2 separate regions of the Homo sapiens genome follow, and region 1 is linked to region 2. The links are contacts of gene promoters, found by promoter capture Hi-C in blood cells and fetal thymus (Javierre and others, 2016). All regions are on one chromosome and are shown on one strand. Each heading gives the region's core, a stretch centred on a gene start or on the middle of the fragment in contact. The rest is flanking DNA. Distances are from core to core; before and after follow the strand shown.

What was found. Contacts are between HindIII fragments. The CHiCAGO score rates a contact against its expected background, and 5 or more counts as called.
Region 1: a fragment that was not itself captured here is called in contact with the fragment with the promoter of MPDZ in region 2 in 3 of 17 cell types (total CD4 T cells, endothelial precursors and activated CD4 T cells); the score reaches 5.2 in total CD4 T cells.

Annotation. Positions count from the first base shown.
Region 1 is chr9:13,940,268-13,942,967 of GRCh38, reverse strand. The region is part of intron 1 of LINC00583 (long intergenic non-protein coding RNA 583); the gene reads right to left. It overlaps LOC101929507 (a long non-coding RNA gene), which reads left to right. Exons shown (of 8, transcript XR_001746621.2): 5 at 2,460-2,565. Among named protein-coding and RNA genes, the nearest start is that of LINC00583, 14 kb to the right of the region's middle. RefSeq lists an enhancer at 2,604-2,700. The HindIII fragment of the contact is 4,835 bases long and covers 1-2,700 here.
Region 2 is chr9:13,278,389-13,281,088 of GRCh38, reverse strand. It overlaps MPDZ (multiple PDZ domain crumbs cell polarity complex component), which reads left to right and starts at 1,397. Exons shown (of 47, transcript NM_001378778.1): 1 at 1,397-1,689. RefSeq lists enhancers at 1,774-2,489, 2,490-2,700. The HindIII fragment of the contact is 3,139 bases long and covers 452-2,700 here.

The DNA.
Region 1 (2,700 bases), core at 152-2,651, 660 kb before region 2:
GACTCACAAGTGGGTAGTGTAGACAGCACAGATACACTGAACCAAGGATGATTCACATCCTAGGCGGGATGGAGTGGGATGGTGTGAGATTTCATCACACTACTCAGAATGGTGAGCAATGTAAAACTTATGAGTTCTTTATTTCTGGAATTTTCCATTTGATATTTTTGGACCATGGTTGACCGCAGGTAACAGAAACCACAGAAATCAAAACCGTGGATAAGAGGAGACTACAGAAAGATTTCTCCTTCTGGAGGTAATTTATGCTTCAGTGTGGTGTTTGTCACAATTACTGAAAACTAGATAGACTTGCCTTGGAGCAATAGGATGTGTTTTTTCCCTGTGTTTCTTGTTTTGGTGTAGCAATGGCTATGTAAAACAGCTGGATAGATATTCTTATATAGAGAACCCAAAGAAAATTCAGTGGCCAAATATCCAGATGAAAAGAGAAGCATTCAGTTAATCATCTGGATGTTTTGTCTACACAAGGAGAAATCTGTGGATGTTTCCAAATATTTGAGAAAATATTTGGGAACATCCAGATGTTTGGCCCTATGCAGCTCAAACATTCAGATGTTTGACTAAATTTCGCCTTCCAACCGGATGCTTCGGCATCAGATAGACCCAGCCTTGGTTATCGTAATTACGCATTGTTAACTGGTGTCACAGAAAATTGTTTGGGGGAAAAACACGACACACCAAAATGTGGAGGTTATAAATAATCACAAACATTACTAGTGAGGAAAGAAGGAGGGAATAACACCTCTGACCAATCAGGATGCATCATCACTAATATAAATTGTCAGCAGTAGTGTTCTCTTTGCAGAAGGTCTAATAATTAAAAATAATAAACATAAGCTGGTGGCTCCTACTAATGAAAACGAAGCCAGTAGCACTTGCAGTGTTTACAAAACATGAAGGATGTGAAAAGGAACATCCTCTGCTTTGAAATGAGTTGAAAATTCTAAACTTCATGGAAACGGGTTGAATGAGAGTTCAGTTTCCTCCTCTTATTTTAATGTGGCCTTGCAGTGTCTCCGATTACAGTGTTCTTAAACTTGTGGGAATCAGCCTAATAAAAATACTTAAAGAAATACAGCTCATCCCTCAGCTGTGGGCCGGCTGTGTAGATTACCATGGTGCAGGAGTCAGGATCTGCCTCCAGAAAGCAGACTCCGTTTTCTACACAGCAGTAACATGAACTTGAACGGAGGCGTTAAATGAGAAGATCATGTTTTGATTCTAATTAAGATTTTAAAACCTGATTTTTAGCCAACTTGTTGTTGGTGAAAAACAGCAATGCCATAAATAAAATAGCCACAGATGGACCCGGATATTTGTTTGAACAACCATAAAAATTCTTTCATTTTAATTGATTGATACTGGACAAAAGTAGTATTCAGCCAAAACCTTACCGCTAGTCTTATAATTATTTTTTTAACCAGTTCACCACTACATTCCAGGGGAACTTCAAGACATCCTACTGAGGTGTCTGGTACAACGTCTGCACCTGATTACATGTTTGACTTTGCATACCAAGCCTGAAATTGTTCAAGAAAATTAATCTCTTATATACTTGCAAAATCCTATCTGGAAAGTAACCTAGATGTGGTCTGGGGTTCATTTTCAAAGTGAACAATCTTCAGAGAACCTGGGACTGGATCGTACTTAGGAATAATATGGTCTGTCATTCTTTGTAGGATGGGAATGACTGTTGTAAAGCCGATGCTAATTTTTCAAGGAACTTCTCTAGAAGATGCAGAAAGAAGCAACAGACCTTAAAATCTAAAAGCATTTAATATTTTTAATTGCTTTCTGAAGAATTAAACTCTGGTTTAATTTGAGAAAGCATCTCAAACATTTTTCGTATCAGAGCAAAAGTTACCTAAGTATGATCCAGTTAGAAGACATGCATATTTTAAAATACCTATGATACACTCAGCTTGTTTTTGTTTTTAAAGAAACAGAAAATATGACTTTGGTTCTAAAAATGCCTTCATTGGAGTAGAGGAGGAAATATAATTGCTACACAAATTGTATGGATTCAACGGAGGAGTCAGCTATGATTTCTTTCTCTGATGACAATGAAACTTTTCACCTTTATATGCCAACTAACTGGAAAAATTTTCCTACAATGTTGTGCTCAGAAGTGTGATAGGAGAATTGAAAGTAATCAGTGTCAATTAGAAAGACCTTGGACATCATTGGGAATGCCTATTAGAAGGGATAAGAGCATGCTAGAAACAGATGGCTTGAGCAAGATTGTTGGCTCTGTCTCTTCTAGCTTCCTGACCTCATGTAAGATATATAACATCTCTATGCCTTGGTTTCCTTATCTGCAAAAAGGGGATAATAATAGTAGTACATAGTGGATAGGACTGCAGCCAGGATTAGATAACAGAGTATATGTAAATCTCGTAGATCAATGCCTGCTACATGAGTAACTTTTTAATCCACAGTACATGAATCAAATTGCATTGAATCAAAAGTTTTGTGAAGATTTGAGATGAGAATGAGAGCCAAATAAGCCATATCATAAGAAGCTGTGATCAGAAATAAAATGAGGTATGTTTTGACACTTAATGACATTCTAAAAGATTGGGCGGCAGCAAGATGTACACACGTCTCTGCAGAAAATGTGGTGAGGAGGTAGGGGGTTGGGCAAGGGAGATCAATCTCACAGCTTTCAAGTAGGATTCT
Region 2 (2,700 bases), core at 148-2,647:
ACAAGATGACCAGGCTTGAGCAGAAGTATCACGGCTGCATTTTTTTTTGCAATCTAGGTTTGAGACAAGCAAACAGGGAAGCCAAATAAACACTTGAATATATGGATAAATCTGAAGGTATAAATGTAAGATTCTGTAGGTACGAGATCATAAGCTAGAAGTGAAAATGTATTTAGAGGTAAGAGTTAAAAGGAAAAGAGGGCCCGTAACTGATTTTTAAGGAATTCCAGCATCTAAAGATTGGGGGAGAGGAGGCAAAGAAGACTGAAGAGTGGCCTGGGGACAGGGGCAGATCTACCTGGAAATTGATGTAGCTTAACGTTCCGGGTCCTTCTCTTGCCTGGGAGCAACCCTAGCAATGTGTTTACATGGGCATTTATTTTTTGAATTTTTCTAAAGAAAGATTTTTTTTTTTTTTTTGGTTAAAGCAGAGCTCCCAATTGTACAAGCTTCAGAGCCCATACATCCGCCCTTGACTAAGCGGAAGAAGCAAAACCAAGAGTGTGATTGCATGGAATTACAAGAGGGGTGGGGTGGGGAGGACTCTAGGAAGAGAGAGGTCAACAGCTGTGAATGTGTTTGAAAGTCCAAGGAATATGAGAAAAAAGTATTTTTATTCAGAATATTAAAAGAAATTCTTTTAAATGTTCTAAATTGGACTTCTGAGTATCCTTTGGTCCTATAATCTAATATCAGAGGGATATTTTGAAAAAGAGTTTCTTATGCAGAAAAAAATTCGTGGGACTTCCAAATTGAGGATAACAGAAAGAAAATCTTAAGTGGCACAAAATAGAAATGAATATCTGTTCTTCCTGGGGCCATGCAACTCTAATAACTTTTCCATGTTTACTGTTTTTGCTTTTTAATTGGATCATCAGACTAAGAATGCACCCTGATGTGCGAAAAGTTACTTAGAAAGTGAGAGGACTGCCCCCACCCTTCTGATTAAAGCGCTTCTCATAAGCATCCTATGCCATTCAGTAAGCTACCCATGCAGAAAGCATCCACAGGGCAGTGCACATAAGGAAAATCTGAGGAGCTAGAAACAGGCTATCAGTTTCCGCAGGTTGACAAAATCGGCAGATAAAAATACAAGACTGCCATTAAATTTGAATTTCCGATAAACAACGAAGAACTTTTTAGCATAAGTACGTCCCAAATATTGCATGGGATATACTTGTACTAAAATTATTCCTTTTTTTTTTTATTTGAAATTCCCATTTAACAGAGCAGCCTATATTTTATCTGACCACCTCACAAGTCCACTACCCACACCCCAGGTCGAGCGGCCCAGGAGCGAGTTTAAAACCCCGCACAGGCCTGCTCGGCCGCGTCCCCTGATTGGCCAAGGCGCGCCCGCCGCCCCGCCGGTCGCAGGCGTCACGGCAGCCCCAGCAGCCTGGGCCCCGCCACCGCCTCCGCGGCAGCCCCGGTCGGCGCAAGTGCGGCGCGCGCTGGGGGAGGGGGCGCGGCGGAGCGCTAGGCTGGCGTCGGGCCACCGCGGGATTAAGTTTCTCAGTCACGCGTGAGTGTCTGTGCGTTTTGATCCGAAGCTCCTCGCCGGGTCGTTACTTCAGAAGAGAAGACAGTGAGCGTGGGCGAGGCGAGGCATCCAGAGGCCCCGGCGACCCCTGCTCCCCAGTCCTCCGCCCCCTCGCGTCGCGGCCCTGGGCGGGCGCCGCGAGCCGGGTAAGCGGCGCTTGAGCCCCGGCCCAGAGGCCGAGGCGCGCCCCCGCGCCCTGCGCGCGCGCCGGCGGGGAAGGTGCGCGGGCGCCCTGGGCTCGGCGCTTGGGGGTGGGGGTGGGGGCGGGGATGGGGGTGGGGGTGGGGGTGGGGGTAGGGGTGGCGGCGGGCCGTGGGGCGGTGGGGCGGTGCGCTTGCCCCACCCCGCGCGGCCCGGCGCTTCGCGGAAGCCGCTGCTGTGGCTTTTTTAAAAGGATGGGGTCTAGAAGTTTCCTTTGCTACTCGCAAGTCTCCACTCCCCCCAGCCCCGCGGTGGATAATCCTAGACCTTTCAGCACCCCCGCCACCCCTTTCTTTTGCTCTCGCTGACTAAGAGGTTTAAAAGTTTTTCCTTTTCCTTGACCCAGAGGGGCACAGTCTTGGTGTCGGGGGGCTGGGGGTGGGGTGTTAGCCTGGGGGCCCGGAGCGCAGACCAGGCCTCCAGGGCGCGGGAGCCTGTTGCTCTCCCCTGCAGGGGCCGCTCCCGGACGCCCCATCCGCCGTTACGTGGTCCCGGGATGTGCGGGTTGCGGTAGAGAGTGGGCAGCAATGCTCCTGGTCCTGCGTTCTCGCCTTAGCCGCGGGGACCCCGAGGCGAGCCGCTAATTGGTACCGGTGCCCCGTCCCTCACCCCTGGCACCGGCGCCCTTTTAACCGCCGCTCCCGTTGGTGGGAGCACGTTGGTCTTGTCTCTCCCTTAGTCTCCTCACCCCCCGCGCTGATGGGCGTCTTTGTCTGCGATTTGGCAGCCCCAGGATGCCGGATGTTACCAGGGAAGCGATGTTTGGGAGACGCTTTGTGTCTTGCGGAGTTGCGCGTTTGTTGGGTGGTGATGGTGTACATTTTTGTTTGCGTTCTTTGCAGAGGCACAAAGGCTGGGCTATTCTTGCCTGCAGTCACATGGAAATCAAGCGGAGACTGCGGGGGAGGAGAAGTGGCCAGGCGCCGGCGGGAGGTAGAGGCCGCTCCGTAGTCACT